Linked DNA regions of Homo sapiens: regions 1, 2, 4, 5, 6 and 7 are each linked to region 3. Evidence: promoter capture Hi-C in 16 types of primary human blood cells and fetal thymus (Javierre and others, 2016). All regions are on one chromosome and are shown on one strand. Each heading gives the region's core, a stretch centred on a gene start or on the middle of the fragment in contact. The rest is flanking DNA. Distances are from core to core; before and after follow the strand shown.

The links. The method cuts DNA at HindIII sites, captures the fragments that hold promoters and counts their contacts. A CHiCAGO score of 5 or more calls a contact.
Region 1: a fragment that was not itself captured here is called in contact with the fragment with the promoter of TOP2A in region 3 in 3 of 17 cell types (neutrophils, M2 macrophages and monocytes); the score reaches 8.0 in neutrophils.
Region 2: a fragment that was not itself captured here is called in contact with the fragment with the promoter of TOP2A in region 3 in 1 of 17 cell types (total CD8 T cells); the score reaches 5.9 in total CD8 T cells.
Region 4: a fragment that was not itself captured here is called in contact with the fragment with the promoter of TOP2A in region 3 in 2 of 17 cell types (neutrophils and M2 macrophages); the score reaches 8.0 in neutrophils.
Region 5: a fragment that was not itself captured here is called in contact with the fragment with the promoter of TOP2A in region 3 in 1 of 17 cell types (neutrophils); the score reaches 7.9 in neutrophils.
Region 6: a fragment that was not itself captured here is called in contact with the fragment with the promoter of TOP2A in region 3 in 2 of 17 cell types (endothelial precursors and total CD8 T cells); the score reaches 8.0 in endothelial precursors.
Region 7: a fragment that was not itself captured here is called in contact with the fragment with the promoter of TOP2A in region 3 in 1 of 17 cell types (naive CD4 T cells); the score reaches 5.3 in naive CD4 T cells.

What each region holds. Positions count from the first base shown.
Region 1 is chr17:40,206,550-40,209,986 of GRCh38, reverse strand. No RefSeq gene overlaps it. Among named protein-coding and RNA genes, the nearest start is that of WIPF2, 11 kb to the left of the region's middle. The HindIII fragment of the contact is 6,806 bases long and covers 1-3,437 here.
Region 2 is chr17:40,652,944-40,656,136 of GRCh38, reverse strand. It overlaps KRT222 (keratin 222), which reads left to right. Exons shown (of 6, transcript NM_152349.3): 6 at 1-1,472. Among named protein-coding and RNA genes, the nearest start is that of SMARCE1, 6.7 kb to the right of the region's middle. The HindIII fragment of the contact is 220 bases long and covers 1,388-1,607 here.
Region 3 is chr17:40,415,708-40,419,149 of GRCh38, reverse strand. It overlaps TOP2A (DNA topoisomerase II alpha), which reads left to right and starts at 1,254. Exons shown (of 35, transcript NM_001067.4): 1 at 1,254-1,379; 2 at 2,255-2,410; 3 at 2,638-2,728; 4 at 3,082-3,145. The coding sequence starts at 1,359. RefSeq lists enhancers at 1,259-1,348, 1,070-1,595. The HindIII fragment of the contact is 7,280 bases long and covers 979-3,442 here.
Region 4 is chr17:40,189,766-40,192,977 of GRCh38, reverse strand. RAPGEFL1 (Rap guanine nucleotide exchange factor like 1) reads right to left here. Exons shown (of 15, transcript NM_016339.6): 7 at 2,447-2,544; 8 at 2,216-2,338; 9 at 1,484-1,662; 10 at 1,306-1,396; 11 at 715-765; 12 at 285-372; 13 at 1-52. Among named protein-coding and RNA genes, the nearest start is that of MIR6867, 2.2 kb to the left of the region's middle. RefSeq lists an enhancer at 1,237-1,316 and a silencer at 1,437-1,496. The HindIII fragment of the contact is 2,203 bases long and covers 637-2,839 here.
Region 5 is chr17:40,238,684-40,242,228 of GRCh38, reverse strand. All of the region lies in intron 1 of WIPF2 (WAS/WASL interacting protein family member 2), which reads right to left. Among named protein-coding and RNA genes, the nearest start is that of WIPF2, 21 kb to the right of the region's middle. The HindIII fragment of the contact is 5,946 bases long and covers 1-3,545 here.
Region 6 is chr17:40,579,119-40,582,503 of GRCh38, reverse strand. No RefSeq gene overlaps it. Among named protein-coding and RNA genes, the nearest start is that of CCR7, 15 kb to the right of the region's middle. RefSeq lists a silencer at 1-112 and enhancers at 1-120, 141-280. The HindIII fragment of the contact is 784 bases long and covers 859-1,642 here.
Region 7 is chr17:40,601,146-40,604,320 of GRCh38, reverse strand. No RefSeq gene overlaps it. Among named protein-coding and RNA genes, the nearest start is that of CCR7, 37 kb to the right of the region's middle. RefSeq lists an enhancer at 1,325-1,584. The HindIII fragment of the contact is 4,168 bases long and covers 1-3,175 here.

The sequences.
Region 1 (3,437 bases), core at 690-3,189, 210 kb after region 3:
TCTGCAAAATGAGCAGATAAGCCCAAATGGAATGCATCCCAAGTGTTTACACACATGGAAACCACTCACCAATCTTAGCCATGTTTGTGATTAGAGTATCAGCAGCAGAGATGGAGAGGGGTAAGTCTAGAGATATTTAAGAAAAGGAATGCGGGACCAAAGAGTGGGAGGACCCAAATATGATTGCTAAATTTCTGACTTGAACTCCTGCTTGGAGGTGATGTTAACACTTAGCTGGAAACAGTTGCAGAGCAAGAGGAGGGGCTGGGGCACTGGAGGAGCCCGAATAGCACAGTGGAATGACCAAGAAGAGAGATTCCTTAGATCACTGGATATTTGGGTCTGAAACTGAGGAGAGTAATCCTAGGAATTTGGGACTCATAAACTGTGGTAGCTAATTTCCAAAGATGGCTCCCAGTGAACCAGGAGTCCTGGTATTTATTGAATGTGGGGCTGGCCTGTGACTGCTCTTAACCAGTGGAATGCAGCAGAATTGAAGCTGTACCAGGTTCAGGACTAAATTGTAAAAAGACTTGACAGCTTCTACTTTTTTGCTTTTGGGAGTCATCTCCCATGTGAGAAATCAGGTACTCTGCTGCAGAGACCACCTGGAGGGAGAAGCCTGGACATGGAGAGAAAAGTCCAGCCATCCTTGTGGTCCCTTTGTTCCCACCAGGGCTCAGGACATGTGAGCTAGCATCCTAGCTAGCTCCAGTGGCTTTTTTTTTTTTTTTTTTTTTTTTTTTTGAGACTGAGTCTCGCTTTGTCAGGCTGGAGTGCAGTGGCACGATCTCGGCCCACTGCCATCTCCGCCTCCCGAGTTCAAGCGATTCTTCTGCCTCAGCCTCCTGAGAAGCTGGGATTACAGGCACCAGCCACCATGCCCGACTAATTTTTGTATGCTTAGTAGAGATGGGGTTTTGCCACACTGGCCAGGCTGGTCTCAAACTCCTGACCTCAGGTGATCCGCCCGCCTCGGCCTCCCAAAGTGCTGGGATTACAGGCGTAAGCCACTGCACCTGGCCCTCCAGTGGCCTTCTGACTGCAGCAAGAGAGACCTCAAGTGAGACCAGAAGAACTATCCAGCTAAGCTCCCATCAGCCCGGAAGATCATGAGAAGTTATAAAATGGTTGCTGTTTTTAGGCTGGGTGCAGTGGCTCACACCTGTAATCCTAGCACTTTGGGACGCTGAGGCAGGTAGATCACCTGAGGTCAGGAGTTCAAAACCAGCCTGGGCAACATAGTGAAACCCTGTCTCTACTAAAAATACAAAAATTAGCTGGGCGTGGTGGCTCATGCCTGTAATCCCAACTATTTGGGAGACTGAGGCACAAGAATCACTTGAACCCAGGAGGCGGAGGTTGCAGTGAGCCAAGATCATGCCACCGCACTCCAGCCTGGGCGACAGAGCAAGACTCTGTCTCAAAAAAAAATAAAAAGTAAAATAAAATAAAACAAAGTTGTCATTTTTAAGCTACTAAATTTGGAACTGTTTGTTATGCAGCAGTAGATTCCCAAACACAAATATGACGATGAAATCTAAGCCCAGGATTATGGAAGGAAAAAAAAAGGGCTCAAGAGGGAGCTGGGGCACTCCACATACAAGGACCAGGCTGAGGGAGAGGCCAGTGAGGAAGACTGAGAAAGAGAAGACAGGGAAATCCTGAGAACGTAGCATCCTGGAAGCAGCGATAAGTGTTCCAGAAGGAAGAATGGTCAGAAATATCAAATGCCAGCAATAGGAAAATAAGTGTTCTTGGATTTGGTAACATGGGAGTCATCGGTGCTCTTGACCCAGGCAGATTATGTGAGTGATGACAGAGAAAGCCAGATGCACTGGGTTGAGAATCAAAGAGAAACACAGAACAGCAAAACCAAACAAACCAGTAATATATGCTGACCTGGATGAGCCTCACAGGCAGAGTGTTGTGGATGGGGAGTTGCTGAACACCACATCCAGTATGATAATATTTATATAAAATCTAAAAACATTCAATTGGCCAAGCGTGGTGGCTCACACCTGTAATTCCAGCACTTTGTGTGGCCGACCGAGGCAGGCAGATAGCTTGAGGCCAAGAGTTTGAGACGAGCCTGGGCAACACGATAAAAACCCCGTCTCTACTAAAAATCCAGAAAAATTAGCTGTGCTTGGTGGTGCGCGCCTGTGGTCCCAGCTACTCAGTAAGTTGAGGTGGGAGGATCACTTGAGTCCAGGATGCAGAGGCAGAGGCTGCAGTGAGCTGAGATCGTGACACCGCACTCCAGCCTGGGTGACACAGGAAGACTCTGTCTCAAAAAAAAAAAAAAAAGAAAGAAAAGAAAAGAGAGGCTGGGCGCAGTGGCTCACGCCTGTAGTCCCAGCAGTTTGGGAGGCCGAGGCGGGCGGATCACGAGGTCAGGAGATCGAGACCACAGTGAAACCCCATCTCTACTAAAAATACAAAAAATTAGCCGGGCGTCGTGGCGGGCCTCTGTAATCCCAGCTATTCAGGAGGCTGAGGCAGTATAATCACTTGAACCTGGGAAGCGGAGGTGGCAGTGAGCCAAGATCATGCCACTGCACTCCAGCCTGGGTGACAAGAGTGAGACTCCATCTCAAAAAAAAAAGAAAGAAAGAAGAAGAGAGGACACAGAGAGACACACAGAGGAGAATGCCTTGTAATGATGGAGGCAGAGACTGGTGTGATGAGTCTAGAAGCCAAGCAAATAAAATTCACATAACATAAAACTCACCATTGTAACCACTTTAAAGCATCCAAGTGAGTATATAGTATATTTACAATGTTGTACAGCCATCACCACTATCTAATTCCAAAACATTTTCATCACCCAAAAAGAAACTCCATACCCATTAGTAGCCTCTCCCCATTCTGCTCTCACCCCAGCCCATGGCAACCAGAAACTATCTACTTTCTGTCTCTATGGATTTGTCTATGCTGGACATTTCATATAAATGGAATCATACAATATGAGGCCTTTTGTGTCTGGTTTTTTAGCACAGTTTTTTCAAGGTTCATCCATGTTGTAGTATATATCAGTACTTCATTCCTTGCTATGGTTTGACTTTGTGTCCCCACCCAAATCTCATGTCAAATTGTAATTTCCAATGTTAGGAGGGACCTGGCAGGAGGTGACTGGATCATGGGAGCAGATTTCCCCCTTGCTGATTCCGTGATAATGAATGAGTTCTCATGAGATCTGGTTGTTTAAAAGTGTGTGGCACTGGCCAGGCACATGGCTCACGCCTGTAATCCCAGCATTTGGGAGGCCAACGCGGGTGGATCACCTGAGGTCAGGGGTTCAAGACCAACCTGGCCAACATGGTGAAATCTTTTCTCTACCAAAAATACAAAAATTAGCCAGGCATGGTGATGCATGCCTGTAATCCCAGCTACTCAGGAGGCTGAGGCAGGAGAATCGCTTGAACCCGGAAGGC
Region 2 (3,193 bases), core at 248-2,747, 240 kb before region 3:
TCCCAATAGTCTTCTTTTTCCCTTGAAACTTCATCAGAGACTGTAAGCATTAACCTGGTTTAGTAAAGTCTTTGTAATTTTTTTCAATGGCTGAATACGCTAAGGAAAAAAGAATTGTTTGAATAGGATTGTGTTAAGAGTCACACTGAGTTATTCACCATTATTCCATGACTGGTTAAACCTACAATGTTTGTTCTATTTTTCAAAAAGAGCAATTATAAACAAGTTTTTAAAGGGGGACTCACTATTCACCTAATGAGGATTCTTCTTTTTGAGATAAATCATTTGTATACTGAGAAAAATGAGTTATTTTCCATGAGAAATTCTGAGCAAACTATAGAACACACCCCAGGGCTAATTTGAGATAAGTACAATTAAGTTAATCTACATATATCTAAAAGGTTTTTTTTGTAATAAGTATCTGATTTCCGGAAGATTTACTTTACTCAAGGAACTTTAAAGGTTGTATCCCCCACCAAAAAAAGAAAAAAAATCAGAAGGCCAACTGCGCAAACAAAACATGAAAAGCAAATTGAAAAGGTAGTTACTATAGTTATCAGAACAGTTACCCACCATCCCAGTTTTTCCAACTGTAAAGCTAAATGTGATTAGATTGTTTGCTATAAGCCGTAGATAAGATACTATATGAAGTATTATAAATATTTCTTGCAATCATTTATGTGAACTAAGATAACGGTATTGTTATCTAAGCTAAGAGTATTTAGAGGATTTGTTTTTAAATCGTTCAAATTGTAATAAATATGGGTAGAAAATATATTTGTGAATAAGTGAGGTATTGTTGCAAAGTTTTTAAAATAACCTAATTTGTTTAATACAGGTATATTTAAGATCTTAATAAATACCTGTTTTAAGACATTAGAAATTTATAAGTTCTTAATTCTTTTCTAAGCAGAAAAAGTAGCTGAGTACAACTCACCATACTTTTTCCCAGCTAAAGTATCATCTAAGGGCTATAGCTACGTTAGCATTTTAGTACAGCCTTTAAAATATTTCTCTCTCTCTCTCCTCTCTCTTCTCCTCTATCTCTCTCTCCATATATACTTATTATATATATACATATATATAATTTATATATATGTATATATATATTTCAACCAGAAAAATGTATGTTTTAACCAGGAAAATATTATGTTAAATAATCTTTAACATAATACAGGGATATAAAATTTTTAATTTTCTTTCAATTACTTCAGATTCCTTTTAGTCTGGTTTATTCTATTTAGTGAAAAGGGATGATTTTGTTTTGTCAAGGATATAACAGCATGTTAAGTGCTTATTCTTGCATAAGCATCTGACCTAAAATACATCCTATACATAAAAAATGTTTCATTTGATATTGCTAAATGCTACTAACTTTATTAAAGCTTTAAAAATGCAATCATATAAGCTATTGTACTAAAGTTACTGTACTAAGCAACAGTGATCATAATAAAGCAATATATCTAGCATAATCTATTGCAGTGTTAAAAAAAACTTAGTACTGGTCGTCATGAATGTAACTGCTTGTTGTAGCAATTCCAGTATGCATCTATTGGGTGTATAACATGTAGATTTTAAAATACAGTATTTGAATTTATAATGAAGCTTTATTTGCTTTGGGGCATTTTAAATTGGGATATGAATTTACCAAGGTAATGATTCCACTACAATTAAAAAAATGAAACATGGCCAGGCACGGTGGCTCATGCCTGTAATCCCAGCACTTTGGGAGGCCAACGTGGGAGGACTGCTTGAGCCCAGGAGTTCAAGGCCAGCCTGGGCAATATAGCAAGACCCCATCTCTCTAAAAAGTAAAAATAAATAAAAATTAAAAATTGAAAAAATTGAAATATGAATGCTAAAGCTGCATTGTATGTGAGTTTGAACGCAGTCCTTTTAGTTCAAAAATATCTCTGCATGGTTAAGTGAAACAAAGAACTAATTACTCCAGTATGGTTAGTTCATTTGGGGAATAAAGAAAACTGCAATCACAGTAGATAGATAATGGTTTTTAACTTGTTTTACAAAAGAGTTAAGAATGGTATATCAATATTTTATTCTAGTTTTTTAAAAATCAAAATAATCACATAATCCCATAGTTCTGGAAAAAGTTTAATAATGGCAGCACCATTTGCAAAGCACTTACTCAGCTCTAGGCACTGTGTTTATCCCTAATAATCCCTAATCCTTCCTTACAACAATCCTACAAAATGAATAATATTATCCTTGCTTTACACATGAGTAGAAATTAATATTCTTTAATCTCTCTGAAATGTTTCAAATGCATGCTTCCATAAAAAAATACAAAAATAAAGAGTAATTCCAGTTACTAACAATTGTAGGATCCTAACCCTGGCTCTGTCACTAACCATGTAACCAGGAGGGGCCACTTTAAGTTCCTAGGCCTCAAGTTTTACACTTGAAAACAAAGGAAAAGGTAAAGCTGGATAATAATTCCTACTCTACCTACCTTACAGTTGTTTGAAATAATATACAAGCAAAAATATTTGTTAAAGCACTGCTCAGATATACAGTACTATTTGGAAGAAAATTGTCTTTAAAGAATGTGTGGGGGAAATTACAGCGGACAATGATTAATAGTTCAAAACACAACAGGTAAAGATACTATTTTTAATTTTTCAATTGCTTCCAGAACAGTTATTCTTTCCCAGTGAGTCACCCAATTTGAACTGTTCTGTCATGATAGCTTTTAAAGTACAAAAAATGTTCTCTATGCCAAGCACAGTGTCTAAAGTATAAAAATGTTCTCTATGCCAGGCACAGTGGCTCACACCTATAATCCCAACACTTTGAGAGGCCTAGGCAGAAGGATTGCTAGAGCTCAGGAGTTCAAGCCCAGCCTGGGCAATACAGTGAGGCCTCGTCTCTATTAAAAAATTTTAAATTAACCGAATATGGTGACACACCAGTAGTCCCAACTATTCAGGATGCTGAAGTGGAAGAATTGTTTGAGCCCAGGAGGTGGAAGATACAGTGAGCCAAGATCATGCCACCGAACTCCAGCCTGGGTGACAGAGTGAGACCCTGTGTCTCAAAAAAAAAAAAAAATAGTTCTCTAAAGATAATAAGTGATTATTATTTTGAGCCACTAAATTTTGGGATAATTTGTTATGCAGAAATATACAACTAATACTGCACATAAGCATATTTCTTATTCATTTGCTAGAGATCT
Region 3 (3,442 bases), core at 5-2,504:
AAAAAAAAGCAACAAAAAAACAAGCAAACAAAAAAGCTTCAGTCTTGGCATTTCCTTGTCAAATTGGAACAGCTGTTCTGGACTGCAGGGTTCACGGAGGTGAGCAAAAGTAGCCAGTCGGAGGGTATCTGGCCAGCTGGCTGCGGAAAAGGTTTCAGCCCCGGACGGCTGAGCCCACCCTCAGCTCAAGAGGCTACCACCACAAGTTATCCCTTTCGATTTACCAGTTGCAGTCCAGCGCTGCTCTACTGGGGACCTGAATGCTGCCCTCCATTTTGCAAAGCCTTTCTACATCCTTCCACTATATGGAACCCCCAAACCACAACTGTGGCACTTTTATTTTAATTATTTTTATTATTTATTTATTTATGTATTTATCTCTTGAGGTGGCCTCGCTCTGTCACTCAGGCTGGAGTGCAGTGGAGCAATCACGGTTCAAGGCGCCTCGATCTCCGATCCCCGGGGCTCAAGCGATCCTCCCTCCTCAGCCTCCGGAGCTGGAGTTACAGGTGTGCGATGCCTCGCCTGGCTATTTTTTTTCCTTTTTGGGTAGAGACGGGGTCTCGCTATGTTGCCCAGGCTGGTCTCCAACTCCTAGGCTCCAGCGATCCTCCCGCCTCGGCCTCCCAATGTGCTGCGAATACAGACTCCAGCCACCGCACACAGCCTACTTTTATTTCTTTGAAAAATGAATTCGAGGGTAAAGGGGGCGGGGTTGAGGCAGATGCCAGAATCTGTTCGCTTCAACCAAGCAGCCAGGCTGCCTGTCCAGAAAGCCGGCACTCAGTTTCCTCAGGAAAACGAAGCTAAGGCTCCCATTCCCCTCGCTAACAACGTCAGAACAGAGGACAGTTTTTAGATTTCAGGGATCTTAAATAGATTGGCAGTTCCTGGAGAATAAACATCCTTTGCTTTTCTCCTGCACACTTTTGCCTCAGGCCACCCCTTCCCGCTTCCAAAGCCCATCTCTTCCAAGCTTTCCGCACGAGAAAACAAGTGAGCCCTTCTCATTGGCCAGATTCCCTGTCAATCTCTCCGCTATGACGCCGAGTGGTGCCTTTTGAAGCCTCTCTAGTCCCGCCTCCCTAACCTGATTGGTTTATTCAAACAAACCCCGGCCAACTCAGCCGTTCATAGGTGGATATAAAAGGCAAGCTACGATTGGTTCTTCTGGACGGAGACGGTGAGAGCGAGTCAGGGATTGGCTGGTCTGCTTCGGGCGGGCTAAAGGAAGGTTCAAGTGGAGCTCTCCTAACCGACGCGCGTCTGTGGAGAAGCGGCTTGGTCGGGGGTGGTCTCGTGGGGTCCTGCCTGTTTAGTCGCTTTCAGGGTTCTTGAGCCCCTTCACGACCGTCACCATGGAAGTGTCACCATTGCAGGTACGGCTCGCGGGGGGGACTGGCGGTGGAGCCTCCGCGCGGCCCGGGCATCTCTCTGGCCGCCCGTGACGGGTGAAGCTCTGGGGCTGCGGTCAGGCCGGCGACCGGCTTGGGAGCCCATATTCTCCATTCCCGGTTCCGGGGTGATCGTGGAGAGGCGGAAGCCCCTTCTGGTGCTAGTAGTGAAGTATGACCCGGCTTCCAGGGTGTCGTGCGTTGTTGCCCTGTTTCTAGGGGCAGGAGTCCGTTGGTCCCGTAGTGGATCCATGTTACAGCGGCCCGGGTGCGACGTTATTGAGTCGCGCGTACAGATGCTTTCCCCTCCTGCCCGCTGCTTGAAAACGGTCTTGAATGTCCCCGATCTTGGAAAGGGCAGAGCCTAGCACAGTGTTTCTCTGGAGCAGCTGGCCAGCTTACAAAAGCGCCCCCTTCCTGAGTTCACAACGCTCAGGTGGCCAAGGGATTGAACGGATAGCCGCCCAAACTGCTGCTGCCGAACTAGAATTATTTACGGTGTCGTGTGCTCGGGACACCGTAAATAATTTATAATAATAGGCACTCGGTAAATAATGTATGCAGGAACTGAAAGAAGTGGGTGTATTTTATTGATGACATCTACCATGTTGCTCAAGAAAAGAGGTTTCCAGACAGACCCACTTGGTGAGATAATATGTGTCTGTTTAACCTGACACCTGGGGACCTGGCCGCAGCGAATTTAAATTGTCCTATTTGTACAAAACTGGCAACTCCACCACTGCCTACTAACAGATTGCAATGCATGTTGACATCTCACTATGGTAGGCATTTTGTTCCTAGTTTAGGGTAAACTTATGATTAAAAATTCCCTTCTTTCTCTCTTTTTTTTTAATTGCTAGCCTGTAAATGAAAATATGCAAGTCAACAAAATAAAGAAAAATGAAGATGCTAAGAAAAGACTGTCTGTTGAAAGAATCTATCAAAAGAAAACACAATTGGAACATATTTTGCTCCGCCCAGACACCTACATTGGTTCTGTGGAATTAGTGACCCAGGTAAAATCAAGCTCATCAAAGGCAGTTAACCTAGTAGTTGAAATGGATACTCTTCTTTCTGTACCTTTCATGTACTGAGTGTGACCTTTCTGTATCTCTCATGTACTGAGTGTCACTGGAACTGGCCTAAATATGGTAATACTTAATATGAACACTTTATGGTAATCATGATAACAGAACAATGAATATAGAATAAAAATAACAGTATTTCTTTGCCTTATTTCTAGCAAATGTGGGTTTACGATGAAGATGTTGGCATTAACTATAGGGAAGTCACTTTTGTTCCTGGTTTGTACAAAATCTTTGATGAGATTCTAGGTGAGTAAATCCTTTAATATAAAGATCTGGTCAAATCTTTCATAAGAAGTATCATTCCAAATAAAAATTTAAAAAAGATAAAAGTAAAAACAAAAAGTATCATTTCTACCAAACCTGCTGTAGCCAGGGCTCCTGTCATTTCAATCAGTTGATAAAGGTGAGCTGGTTTCCTGGAGCCCAGGAGGTTGAGCTTCTCGTAGAAACAGTACTATGGACAAAAATTGCTAAATTAACACCTTGTTAATGCCACTCCTGTGCTGTTTGGGAACTTTTTTTTCTATATCTTACTTAGAGTTACAGAATGTTTCTTAAAACACTAATTTCTTACAAATGTATATTTTATTTTCTTTCAGTTAATGCTGCGGACAACAAACAAAGGGACCCAAAAATGTCTTGTATTAGAGTCACAATTGATCCGTACGTCTTTTGCTTAGTTTTTGTTATGTAGCTCGTTGCTATTGTTAGCTGCATGTATTTTGATTACTGGTGAAGTTGGCTTTTCCTAAACAGAAGTTGAGAAAAGTACACAAAAGCAGAATGCTAAAATGAAAAACCTATGGATACCCACCACCTAGATCCAACAGTTGCCAACGTTTTTCCATATTTTCTCCATCTTTTTTTTAATTAGTTAATTTTTTTAGAGGAAGGGGTCTTGCTATTTTGCCTGGGCTGGTCTTAGAACTCCTGGCCTGAAGCAATCCTCCAGTGTTGGCA
Region 4 (3,212 bases), core at 489-2,988, 230 kb after region 3:
TTCACCAAACCATCTACAAGGGTCTTACTCCCTTCGTGCAGGAAAGTCAGGTCTAGGGGATGTGGAGAGAATCCAATGTGAGGAAAGGATAAGAGAGGAGTTCGAAAGGGGCCACTGCACCCGAGGACCCCGCTCTTCCCCAGAACCCACTCCGTCTGTGGTGGGGGGCTCCTCTCCAGGTGGGTACTCAGGGCTGAGTCGAGAGGGAGCTGGAAGTCAGAAGCAGGGCATAGGAGAAGGGAAGCATGGGTGGAAGCGGCACAGCTTGGGAGTAACTCTCTCACCTTTGAGGATCAGAGGCACGAAGGGAATCACAGGGGGCTTCATTTTGGAGATCACTTCTCGGTAGCTTTTGTGGTTCCTGCAGGGGTCCTAGTATTCCACAGGAGAGAGATCAAGGGACAGACTGGCCAATGCATCCCAAAGATGTCCTCAGCTTCCTCCCTCACCCCCTGCCTTGTATACATTCCTGATCAGATAGGGGTGCTGGGGGCTTTCTAATGGTGTGGTGGGGAGGGACCTGACTACTCCCCCTTTCCTTCAAGAAAAACAGGGGCGCAATCCTTCCAACCTCACCCTCCAGCATGGTAAGGAGGGTGGGGGGTCCCATACACTAAACACCTTGAAAGGAAAGCTTGAGGAAGGGGGTTTATGGGAACAGAGGGTTTCTGGGCTCTCAGTCCAAGAGCAGAAGAAAGAGCCAAACCCACTCACCGTCAGGTTCTCAAATTTGCGAAACAAGTTCTTGAATTTCCCTGGCAGCTTCTGCAGAGTTTGAAGGAAGGAGAAGGGATATCAGAGTGGAGCTCCTTGGGTTACATGGGAGCCTCGGATTAATTCTCCCTGTTGGAGGGCAAAAGGGCCTGCATGGCTTGTAGGGGGCTGGGAAGCTGGTGGGTGGGGAAATGAAGTCAGGCCTTGGCTAAGTCTAGAGGCTTGAAACAGCCCAGAGGAATTCATTATTCTGGGGAAGGCCAGGTCTGTCTTATGCAGGTGCTTTGTATAAAGATGCCCCCACTGAGTGTGGATGAAAATCAGCCCAACTCCCACAGCCAAGTCTGCGACCTGACCTGGCCAAGGGCTGCCTGCCGTGACTCAGGCGGGATCCGGGCTTTTCACTAATTTGCACAAAGACAGGGTCCATTAGCCAAGCTGTGCGCCCTGGGGTTGCGTATGCCAGAAGAGGGCGCCTCCCTCCAACTGGCGCAAAGACTCCCTCCAGGCCGGCGGCCGTCCCGGGAGGACGCACTTCGGGGAGCCCGGGATGCCCAGATTCCCAGGTAGGAACGGGAGGGGTCTCATCACCTCCCAGGTGAGTCGAAGGCGGCTGACAGCGGCGTTGTCCAGCCCCATGACCACGGCGTAGAAAGACAGCAGGTCCTGGTTCTGCTTGCAGCTGCGGGGGTGGGAGGCGGGGTCAGGGGCGGGCGGCGGCGCGGGCCTCCGGCCTCCGGCCCCCCATCCCGCCGACGGCCGCACTCACAGGGCCGCGATCTTGATGAACTTCTTGAGCAGCTGCGCGCGCTTGCCCGGGGCCTCGCAGAGCAGCACTTCGGTGGCCACCCAGTGCGTGACCTCGCTGCAGCGCTGCAGCAGCAGCTCCAAGTTGGCCGTCTCCCGGCGGCCGCGCTCCCCGTGGAACACGTAGTCCACGAACTCCAGCTGCACCCACGGCAGCGGAGGGGCGGCCAGGGCGCCAGGGGGTGAGGGGAGTGGGTGGGAAGATGGCAGTGCAAGGCGATGAGGAGCGAAAGGCAGGAGGGCGGGGGCGGAAGGGGTGGAAAATAGAAAAATAGAAAGGACAGGAGGCGGCAAAGATGCGGAAAAAGAAAACAACCAGCATTAATAATATTTCACCAGCTACTGAGCACTTACTAGGTGCCAGGCATTCGCTCACGGCTGACATCCTCAAGACAACCATCTGCTAGGCATTATTGTCTCTGCCTTATTTTATTTCTTTAATAGTGAATATTTTAAAAATAGAAATCCTGGGTCAGGTTCTGTGTAAACAGCACTTGGGCCCTGAGCCACTGTGCTCTGGGGTCTCTCTCTTTGCGATTTTTTTCAGATGGGGGAACAAAGGTTACGGCCATGCGTTGCCCAAGGGCTTGCTGCAAGTGAGCCTTGGAACCAGGACGTTGTGCTGCGAACACCGTCTCCCAATGGCACATTTCTCCCTCCAGCCCCCCAGCATAGCACCAGCCTCGGTCCCCACCTCATGCACACATCGGAACAGCTCCCAGTGGAAGGCAGTTAGGTGGTTGGCAACGTCCTCAGGCTCCACTCGGTGGATCTCTGTGTCTCCAGGGGAGACCTGGATCTCCTCGGGGAGGGGCACCTGGTGGCAGGCAGGGGCATAGGGGCTGGGCTCCTGGTGGCAGGGTGAGGGATTGCTCACAGCCCTCCTCAGCCCTCCATTCCAGTCAAGGCCTTGGGAAGTTCTTACCAGAGCCTCATAGCTGTCCCGAGTACAGGCAAACAGGTGGCTGTTGATGCCCAGTGCGGTGAAAACACAGTCCTCAGTGGGCTGGAGAAGGACCTTCTCTGCAGGAGAAAGAGCTGCTCATCCTCGGCCCCTGCCGCCTGCACCCTCACACATCCCACACTGACACTGTCCTATCCAAAAACTCCTCACCCCACACTGACACATTCTAGACTAATGGAACTCATCTTATCACTAGTTTATGCCATATTTATCTGGAATTTGTCAAATGATTATTTCTTTTGCATTTATAACTTTTTTTCTACTCCCTTTCTTTCACAGCTTTTCTCTTACTCTGTTGTCCTTGTGACACTGGGAAGGCTGAAATTTTTTCCTACTGTAGAGGAAAACAAAGCTTCAGTGACATTGCTGGCTTTCTGCCTTCCCACTCATCCTGTGTCTTTAGCCTGTGAAATGTGGCATCCTTACATACACAGGGAGGTTAAAGGATCAGAATACAATCCATAGGTGAGTGAGGGGCAGCACTCAGATCAGAACCTGAGTCCTAGACCAGTGCCTCCCAAACTTTTTTTTTTTTTTTGAGACGGAGTTTCGCTCTTGTTGCCCAGACTGGAGCACAGTGTCTTGATCTCGGCACTGCAACCTCCGCCTCCGCGGTTCAAGTGATTCTCCTGCCTCAGCCTCCCAAGTAGCTGGGATTACAGGTGCACACCACCATGCCCAGCTAGTGCCTCCCAAACTTTAGTAGGCATAGGAGTCCCCTGGGGGG
Region 5 (3,545 bases), core at 934-3,433, 180 kb after region 3:
GTTTTATTTTGATTGCAAAGACAGGATCTCACTATGTTGCTCAGGCCAGTCTCAAACTCCTGACCTCAAACAATCCTCCTGCCATAGCCTTCCAAAAAACTGTTTCAATGGAAGTTGTAAAATTGTATTACAGCTATTTCTATAGAGCTGCTCATCTTAGAATGCAAATCAACTCTATGTCAGAGCCAACATGGCCTCCTCAGCTGTATTTTAGTTAATAACAGCCACAAGATTTCCAAGAACTGAGAACTAGGGTACCACAGTTAGCCTCTGCAACACTGCTAAGACAAGTACTATTTGGCTCTTAACCTCTAAGCAATTCACAACCAAGGAGCAGCTGCAAACACATTTCCAGATACTTTACAGACTGGCAGCAAAAGATACAACCCTTTTTCTTTTCTAGGCGTAGGAATCTATAATACAAAAGGGAGAATTGTGTCCTTTTGATTGTAAAGTTAAAAACAAACTTCAAATCACAGTGCTTCAACATCTCCAAAAATGACGCTGCATAAACCCAAGGCAGATTAGGACATCTGTTTTCAAAGCCTGAGTCAATTTTCCATTTCACCAAAAACACTGATTCCTGGACTTAGTAAATTGGTGCAGAGCAGCTCAATGTTCATAACTAGTATTTCCTCCCCTGTACATCCCAGGAGCGGGTTTAGAGACGCTGACTAAAAAAAATGAAGTCACACAAGCCCAAAGTTATTACCATCAGCCAACATTTAATACTAAAGAGGGGAGTTAATCAGAGGAAAGACACACATGCTAATTCAGAAATCCAGACCAAAGCTAGACAGGCTAAAACAGAGTCTGAATACAAAAGCAGTATTAGGGGAAGGCTAAGGAGTTTGCCATGGAGATGTAAGATGGCATTAATGGTTTAAAAAGAATCCTTCTAAAGCAGGGTTTCCAAACTTGCCTGAAGATAAGACATATTTAGGGCATTTGTTTAAAAACAAACACACTTTAAAAAAAGATCCCTGGGCGCTAATCTAAACCAACTAAAATCAGAAGTTTTCCAGGAGAATGATCTGGTAATCTGTATATCCAACAAGCACTTTAAGTGATTCTTGGTGTTAGGGAAGTCTAGAAAACACTATGCTAAAGGAGTATTAGTAATCAACTGTAAAGACACTGTGGTGTCTGAATGGATATTGGCAAGGAAAAGCTGATGAATATGTTGAATAACATGTTAAACATAATATATTGCATGCATTAATCAATGTTCCATCATAAAACACCATTAAAATTACAGCAAAAGGATTTTTTTTTTTTTTTTTTGAGACGGAGTCTCATTCTGTTGCCCAGGCTGGAGTGCAGTGGCGCTATCTCGGCTCACTGCAAGCTCCACCTCTCGGGTTCATGTCATTCTCCTGCCTCAGCCTCCCGAGTAGCTGGTACTACAGGCGCCTGCCACCACGCCCAGCTAATTTTTTTGTATTTTTAGTAGAGACGGGGTTTCACTGTGTTAGCCAGGATGGTCTCCATCTCCTGACCTCGTGATCTGCCTGCCTCAGCCTCCCAAAATGCCGGGATTACAGGCGTGAGATACCGTGCCTGGCCAGGATTTTTTTTTATAAAGACATAAACCAAACAACAAGCAAAAAAACTGGGAAAGGAGACAGCAGAGAGAGAGATGTCAACAAAGTTTTGGAAGGTAAAAAGCAAATGCACTAGTGATAAATAACTTCACAAAAGTAAAAAAAAAAAACAAAACACTGCAGTGGGAAGAAGCAAGCAGATTCCCACCACAGATGAACTTCTGAATCAAAACGTCTCAGAAATTAGAGGCACCTGGTACCTCGGGAAGATGGGGTGATAGTGTAGAAGGGGCTAAACAGGAGGACTGGTTGAAAGTCTGGGACTGGCACGGTGGCTCACACCTGTAATCCCAGAAGTTTGGGAGGCCGAGGCAGGTGGATTACTTGAGCTCAAGGGTTCGAGACCAGCCTGGTCAACCTGGTGAAACCCCGTCTCTACTAAACATACAAAAAAATTAGCCGATTGTGGTGGCTCATGCCTGTAGTTGCCAGCGACTTGGGAGGCTGAGGCAGCAGAATTGCTTGAACCTGGGAGGTGGAGGTTGCAGTGAGCTGAGATTGCACCACTGCACTCCAGCCCGGGCAACAGAGCAAGACTCCATCTTAAAAAAAAAAAGAAAAGTCTGTATAACAAATGGATTCCTCCATCCCTCCCCATGCTGCCAGGCAAATTAGAAAAGTTAAACCAGGCCAGGCTCGGTGGCTCATGCCTGTAATCCCAGCACTTTGGGAGGCCAAGGTGGGTGGAACACCTGAGGTCAGGAGTTCAAGACCAGCCTGGCCAAGATGGTAAAACCCCACCTCTATTAAAAATACAAACATTAGCCGGGCACGGTGGCAGGCACTTGTAATCCCAGCTACTTGGGAGGCTGAGGCAGGAGAATCCTTTGAAGCCGGGTGGCAGAGGTTGCAGTGGGCCAAGATAGCGCCACTGCACTCCAGCCTAGAGATGACAGAGTGAGACTCCGTCTCAAAAAAAAAAAAAAAAAAAAAGAAAAGCTGAACCAAAGAGTCCAAAGGAACTAGTCACAGCTAAGGGCAGTGACGGAAATAAGGGTATCAAGTGAAAAGCCTAATGAGTCAACGGTGAGACCTCTCCTACCTCCCCAGCTCCTTTCTCTCACTTGGCTCCAAAAACATTGGCAGCCAGACTTACACTCAAACACCTGCCACTGGCTTATACTCTCTAGGCAGGGGACTGGAGGAGTCCTTTTACCAGCCTGCCAGGGTGCCTGTAATCCCAATACCCTATAGTAGGGTCCACCACTTGATGAGCTTCTTAGTGTCACATTCTTAAAAATAAACAGAAGCCAAGGCTGGGCGCAGTGGATCACGCCTGTAATCCCAGCACTTTGGGAGGCTGAAGGGGGCGGATCACGAGGTCAGGAGATCGAGACCATCCTGGCTAACACAGTGAAACCCCGTCTCTACTAAAAATACAAAAAATTAGCCGGGCGTGGTGGCGGGCGCCTGTGGTCCCAGCTACTTGGGAGGCTGAGGCAGGAGAATGGCGTGAACCTGGGAGGCGGAGCTTGCAGTGAGCCGAGATCGCACCACTGCATTCCAGCCTGGGCGACAGAGCGAGACTCCGTCTCAAATAAATAAATAAATAAATAAATAAATAAATAAATAAATAAAATAAAATAAACAGAAGCCAGACACAGTGGCATGAGCCTGTAGTCCCAGCTACTTGGAGGTAGGAGGATAACTTAAGCCCAGGAGTTTGAATCCAGCCTGAGCCCCACAGCAAAACCCCATCTCTTAAAAAATAAATGGCCGGGCACGGTGGCTCACGTCTGTAATCCCAGCACTTTGGGAGGCCAAGGCGGGCGGATCATGAGGTCAGGAGTTTCAGACCAGCCTGACCAAGGTGGTGAAACCCCATCTCTACTAAAAATACAAAAATTAGCCACACTGATGGCAAGCGCCTATAATCCCAGCTACTCGGGAGGCTGAGGCAGGAGAATCGCTTGAACCCGGGAGGCGGAGGTTTGCAGTGAG
Region 6 (3,385 bases), core at 1-2,500, 160 kb before region 3:
TCTGTGCACACGTCCTGACAAGTCAGGAAACCGCCGCCGGGCCATGGCAACAGGTGTCAGGGTGACCTGAGGCTTCCCGCTAGCCTGTGCCAAGCCCTCCTTCCCTTTTCATGTAAGTGCCACACGCTAACCAATTGCACCACTGAGAGCTCCTCTCCTTCCCTTTTCTTCATCCTGGTGAGCCATCCTCTTCCTCCCTGCAGCCTCACAACTTATTTTCCTCACACCTGTTGGCCCTTTCCCTCTTGGTTGTCCAAGGTCCGAGTAAGACCTTAAAAGGCCCTGAACCCTATAAAGATTGCAGTCTCTCTCCAAATATAATTCCTAATACTCACCAGACAACACAAAATGTACATGTGTGCTGAAATTAAAAGAGCATCTTTTTAGATTTTCTGATTACTGAACTCTTCTCAACTTTGGGATGTCTTCATCTGGCTGGGGCCCTGTGTCCATACCAAATCTGCCTGTTGGGTTACCCCACACTGGTGGAGGCTCATTTTCGTTGGCTTCACATGGGAACAGATTATTCCCAAGTGAGATAAAACAGGGGCAAGAGGTGGGGGCAGGAGTGAGAGGTGTGATCTTGGACTTTGCCCACTAAATGACAAGTCCAGAGGGACAGGAAGCCATTGGACACTCTGGGTAGAGCCAGGACACTGCTACTATGACCATGGACTCCATATGCAAGAAAGGCAGGACTGAGTTTCTGAGCTTCTGCAGACCTGGCTCCCTCCAGGGGACTCTGGGTCTGGCTCCTCTGTCGATTCTCTCCAGATCAGAGGCCTCCTCTAGGGGTCTCAAGACTTGTCCTGTTCTTTTTCATAATAACAGGGGCTGGAGTTTCTGGTAAGCTAAGCTTTTCTTTATCCTCTGGGTAACCAAGTCATCAGTGAGGTGGTTGGACTGAATGACTATAAAGGTTACTTGTAGGTCCTTCTCCCTGCTCATTCTCAGAAACCTTCGTAAAACAGGATGGGATGTAAAGACCTGTCTGAGGGTGTCTTTCCCAGGAAGAGAGGGGGCAGCCGTGGTCTGAGCTCTTCCGACCATGCCCAACATCAGTAAAGGCAGCCTGGCATAGTGGGAAAAGCCCCTTAGCTTAGAGTCAAATATCAAGTCACTTTCCTTTCAAGTCTCAGCTTCCTCAATCATAGAATGGAAACCTGCCACACAGGGCAGCCCGAGGGCTAAATGAGATGAGGTATAAGGATGTGCTTGGAGATGTGGATGCCCATGCTATTTTCCATTGCTTGTCAAGCTCCTCAAGGCCCAGGACTAGGTTGATGGGCCTTCAAGCCCTAGCACCTGGCCTAATACCTGGCAGAGTAGGTGCTCAGTGAATGGATGCTGGATGAATGAATAGAGGGACAAATGGATAGGTAAAGTCCTAGGAAGCAGGCAATTCTGGGAAACGCTGTAAACACCACCTGTTCTAGATGCCACAGCAGCAAAGAGAGATTGCCTTCAAAGACATGGCCAAAGTCAAACATAATTCACGTGCCAAACACAGCCACACCACTGAGCAGGCAAAAAAGGCCAGACATTGGCCCCACAGGCCACATCACCCCAAAAGCCAAGTTAAACAGTATAGCTCACCCTGTCTTCTGAATTCCCAAATTAAGCAACTCAGAGAAAGTAAGCTTGCTGAGGTCAGCCCGGCAAGACTTCTGGCCTTGGTAATTTTTTTTTTTTTTTTTTTTTTTTTGAGACAGGGCCTTGCTCTGTTGCCCAGGCTGGAGTGCAGTGGCTTGATCACAGCTCACTGCAGTCTTGACTTCCCAGGCTCAAGCAATCCTCCTGCCTCTCAGCCTTCCAAGTAGAGGGCACTACAGGCCTACGCCACCACACCCGGCTAATTTTTGGATTTTTTTGGAGAGATGAGGTTTCACCATGTTGCCCAGACTACACTCAAACTCCTGGGCTCAAGCAGTCCTCCCACCTTGGCCTCCCAGAATGCTGGGATTACAGGCATGGACCACCACTCCCAGCCTGGCCTTGGTCCTTCTACTGACCACTCACCACTGCCTTCCCCCTGCACCTGGGCCCCTTCTACTCCTCTGTAGATGCCATCTTTTTTATACCCTTCCTGATTCCCCTTCTATGTGCTCCTACAGCATGTTGAGCATGCCCCCCTAGTTACCTCTTACTACATTGCACAATAATAGTGTCTTCTATTATTTTTTAAATATTGTGAAATAATTAATACTTAAAGGTGTAAAGAATAATACAATGAAGACTTTTGTAGGTCTTGAATGAAGACAAATCATTACCAGTAGATATAGCAAATACCAGTTTAAGCCCCTGCATACCTCTCTCTCTTTGCATCCCCTTCCCTCCCCATCCTAAATTTAGTGTATACTACCTCCTGCTTGTTTTTATGCTTTTACTGCTTACAGGTAATTGCTTTTTCATTTGTTCATGTGCCTCATTTTTATGAACTGAATGTTTATGTCCCCCCTAAATGCATATGTTAAAGCCCTAACCCCCAATATGGCTGCAGTTGGAGATAGGACCTCTAAGGATATAATTAGTGTTAAATGAGGGCATAAAGGTGGGGTTCTGATCCAATAAGATGTGTTCTTATAAGAAGAGACCCCAGAGAACACCCTCCCTCTCCCCTCACACATGCACCAAGGAAAGGCTATGTGAGGGCATAGCAAGAAGGAGAAGGTGGCCATCTGCAAACCAGGAAGAGGGCCCTCACCAGAAGCCAACCCTGCTGGACCTTAAGCCATTCAGCCTGTGGTATTTTGGTACAGCATCCGGAGCACAGTAATACACCCACAGTGCTTTATGTAAACTTGGCAAGGCCAGGGACCATGTGTGTTCATCTTTGTATTTGTAGAGTCCAGCACCACGCCTGGCACATAGTGTTCACTAAATATTTGTTGAATGAATAAATGACAACACTGCAGGTGAAAACAGGTACCCTAGAGTCCATTCCTTAGGAGCAAGATGTTCTCTGCTCTGCCATGATACTCAAGCTACTGCCGATACCAGGATCTGCAGTCAGTGTCCAACAAAGGAAATTTGAAAGTAAGGAAGAAAGGCATTCTCCAGACAGGGGTAAAGGGAGCGGTAGCATCTTTGGAAAAGTTTAAAGTCCCTTCATCAATCAATCAAATGTTTATTAAGCACCTGCTTATTAAGTATTCCATGTTGAACAGTCTCTACTTCCATAAGGCAATCAGTCTTTGGAAGACTAAAGACCAAGTGGCCCAAAGATGCCCCGGATATAAACAAGCACAGTGCTTTTTGGCATCTCTTATGAACATGTTCTTTGGACAGATACTTTGAAGTGTCCATGGCACTCCAATTGGAGAACATGAACTCAGAGAGCTCTCCTTCACTTATGACACAAACTATATCCACAGCACACCTTGGA
Region 7 (3,175 bases), core at 476-2,975, 180 kb before region 3:
ATAGGCAACTACAGCCAGCTACCAAAACAAGAACAGTAGCAGACTGAGTAGATTGGAGCTTGGATCCAACTTGCAAGTTCAAGGGAAGGGGACATTCAACACAGACTTGCTGCTACTCAAGGTGTGGTCCATGGACATCGCCTGGGAGCTTGTTGGAAATGTGGAATCTCAGACTCTATGCTAGACTTTCTGAATTCCACTCGAATTTTTACAAGACTCCTGTGCACTCTAAATTTTGATAAGCATTAGGCAGACTAATGGTTCTTTTTTTGTTTTGTTTTGTTTTTTGAGACGGGGTCTCACTCTGTCACCCAGGCTGGAGTGCAGTGGCACGGTCTCCGCTCACTGCAACCTCTGCTTCCTGGGTTCAAGTGATTCTCGTGCACAGGCATATGCCACCAAACCCGGCTAATTTTAGTATTTTTAGTAGAGACAGGGTTTCACCATGTTGGCCAGGCTGGTCTCGAACTGACCTCAGATGATCCGCCCGCCTCAGCCTCCCAAAATGCTGGGATTACAGGCGTGAGCCACCACACCTGGCCTGGGATCATCTGAAGAGCTTTTAAAAATGCTGATGCCCAGGGTGTATCCCAGAACAACTGGCATCATGTTGATTTTTGTAGCTCACCAGGTGATTCCAATATTCAGCCAGGGTTGAAAGCCATTCATCTAGACCAACCCTCCAATTTGCAGGTCAAGAAACTAAAGTCCAAAGGGGTAAACTGACCTGCCCAAGGTCACACAGCAAGGGAGTGATAGTGCCTGGGACCTGAGCTCCAGTGCTCCACCCCCAGGGCTCTCTTCACTGGACTTCACTGCAAAATGGGGCAAGGTGGAGCGGAGCACCAGCGTTTCCCTTCTGGCTTGGCTTCTTCACTGTTGGGTCCTCAGCTCAGATCCCAAAGAAGGAGCTTCCTAGATGCAGGTGGCCTTACGCCTTTGAATTCCCAGGTGGACTATGGCCATAGAGGCCTCACGCTCTCAGGCAGTAGGTGCCAGAAGCCTGGGGCCAGGTGGGACTCTGCTTCCTGACCGGTGGCCAGTCTCTAGGCTGGAACAGCCTCACACTCTCACCCAGCCAGCATGGGCCTGCCATTCTCACCCGCCCCCCACCATCTTCCCAGAGAGACGGAGCCCTCAGGGACTGTCCCACCACAATTCTCAGAACTCAGGTGAAGTTTCTGACCCCCCACAGCCGCAGCTCCCGACTCCTCTGAGAACTGCTGGGACAGGCCTGTTCTCAATCAGCAACCGCGACTGTCTTGAAACCATCAGAGGCTCCCTCATGACTTGTTTTCGCTCTCTTGTCAGGGTTTTGGGGGTGTGTGTGTCTCAAACCTCTGATTGTCTCTGCTTTGTGACTTTTTCTGGTGTGTTTTTGAAGTGGCTTTTTGTTATTCTGCCTCCACTCGCTCATCTTTCTCGGCAGCCGTGGAAAACACTCTCGGCCTGTTCTGCTCTCCACCGAGCACTTGGATCCCTTGTAAACAGCTTGCCTGGTGGCCTGGACCAGGCTGAACAGATAGGAAGGGCCTGGGCCTGTCAAGCCTTTGAAAATAAACATGCTGCACTGAGCTTCACCATGCTCAGGGAGGAGGATGGGGTAGACACGAGAAAGCAGAAAGAACTTTCTAGGCACAAGATTACTCTCCTGACGGCCGAGTGAGGTCTTTTCCACCGCCCTAAAACAGGCAAGAACAGAGGCCTGCCCCTTCCCTGAGCCTCAGGCCTGCTAGAAGGAGGGCACCCACCTGCAAAAGCCTTTCCTGAAAAAAAAAGAAAAAAATTTTTTTGAAACAGAATCTCACTTGGTTGCCCAGGCTGAAGCGCAAGCGGCATGATCATGGTTCACTACGGCCCTGACCTCCCCAGCTCAAGCGATCCTCTCACCCTAGCCTACCAAGTAGCTGGGACTACAGGTGCGTGCCACCATGCCTGACTAATTTTTTTTTTTTTTTGTAGAGATAGGGGTCTCACCATGTTGCTCAGGCTGGTCTCAAATGCCTGTGCTCAAGCAACCCTCCTGCCTCAGCCTCCCAAAGTGATGGGACTGCAGGCATGAGCCACCATGCCCAGCCCTCTCCTGAAATGTGAGAGGTAGATCTTAACTTGCACTGCCCAATATAGTGCCACTAACCACACATGTGACTACTGAGTGCTTAAAATGTGGCTACTTTGCGAGCATGGTGGCGGGTGCCTGTAGTCCCAGCTACTTGGGAGGCTGAGGCAGGAGAATTGTTTGAACCCGGGAGACAGAGGTTGCAGTGAGCCAAGATCGCACCATTGCACTCCAGCCTGAGTGACAGAGTGACACTCTGTCTCAAGAAAAAAAAAAGAAAAAAAAGAAAGAAAAAAGTGGCTACTTTGACTAAGGAACTGAATTTTTTATTTAGTGTTGCATAATTTAAATAGCCACGTGTGGCTAGTGGCTACTGTTAGACAGCACAACTCAAAAGCAGGGTTCTCAAACTAGGCTGCATATTAGAATCACCTGGGAGCTTTAAACCACTCTGACGCCTGCAGCCATCCCTGGTGACTTTGATTTATTGCCACTGGGTATGGGCAGAGCCAGAGTTCTGAAAGCCCCACGTGTGATTCTCACGCACAGCCAGTTTTGCAAAACTCTGGCCCAAAGGACTTCCCACAGCTTTTCCACCTCTGACATCCTACACGTTGATCTGGTCTCTACAGTTTTCAGAATTTAAGGAGCAAGGAATTTACTTAGAGAATCAACTCAAGATGCTGGAAAATGTTTTTCTATGTTCTAAATGTAATGCATGTTCGTTGTAACACATGGGAGAAAATTGAGAAAACTCAGAGAAATGAACAGAAGAAAGTCAAAATCCCCTAAAATCCCACCACCTAGAGAAAAAGGGTTGAAACACTTAGACGTATATCCTTCAAGGCATTTTTCCATGGATAGAGCCTTATTTTCCTTCAAAATTGAAATCCTACTATGCTTCCTATTTTGTAATGTTTTTGTCACTTTACTTATTTGATTAACAAATATATCATCAATTGTAATGGCTACATGACATTCTATTGCATATAAACCACTATTTATCCAAATTCATATTAATATTGGCCCCATTTTTGCTATAATTTTTAAAAACATTGCTATGAAAAAATACAATGTCTTTATGAAAAGCCATTCACTAACTCCTTAGGAGAAAAG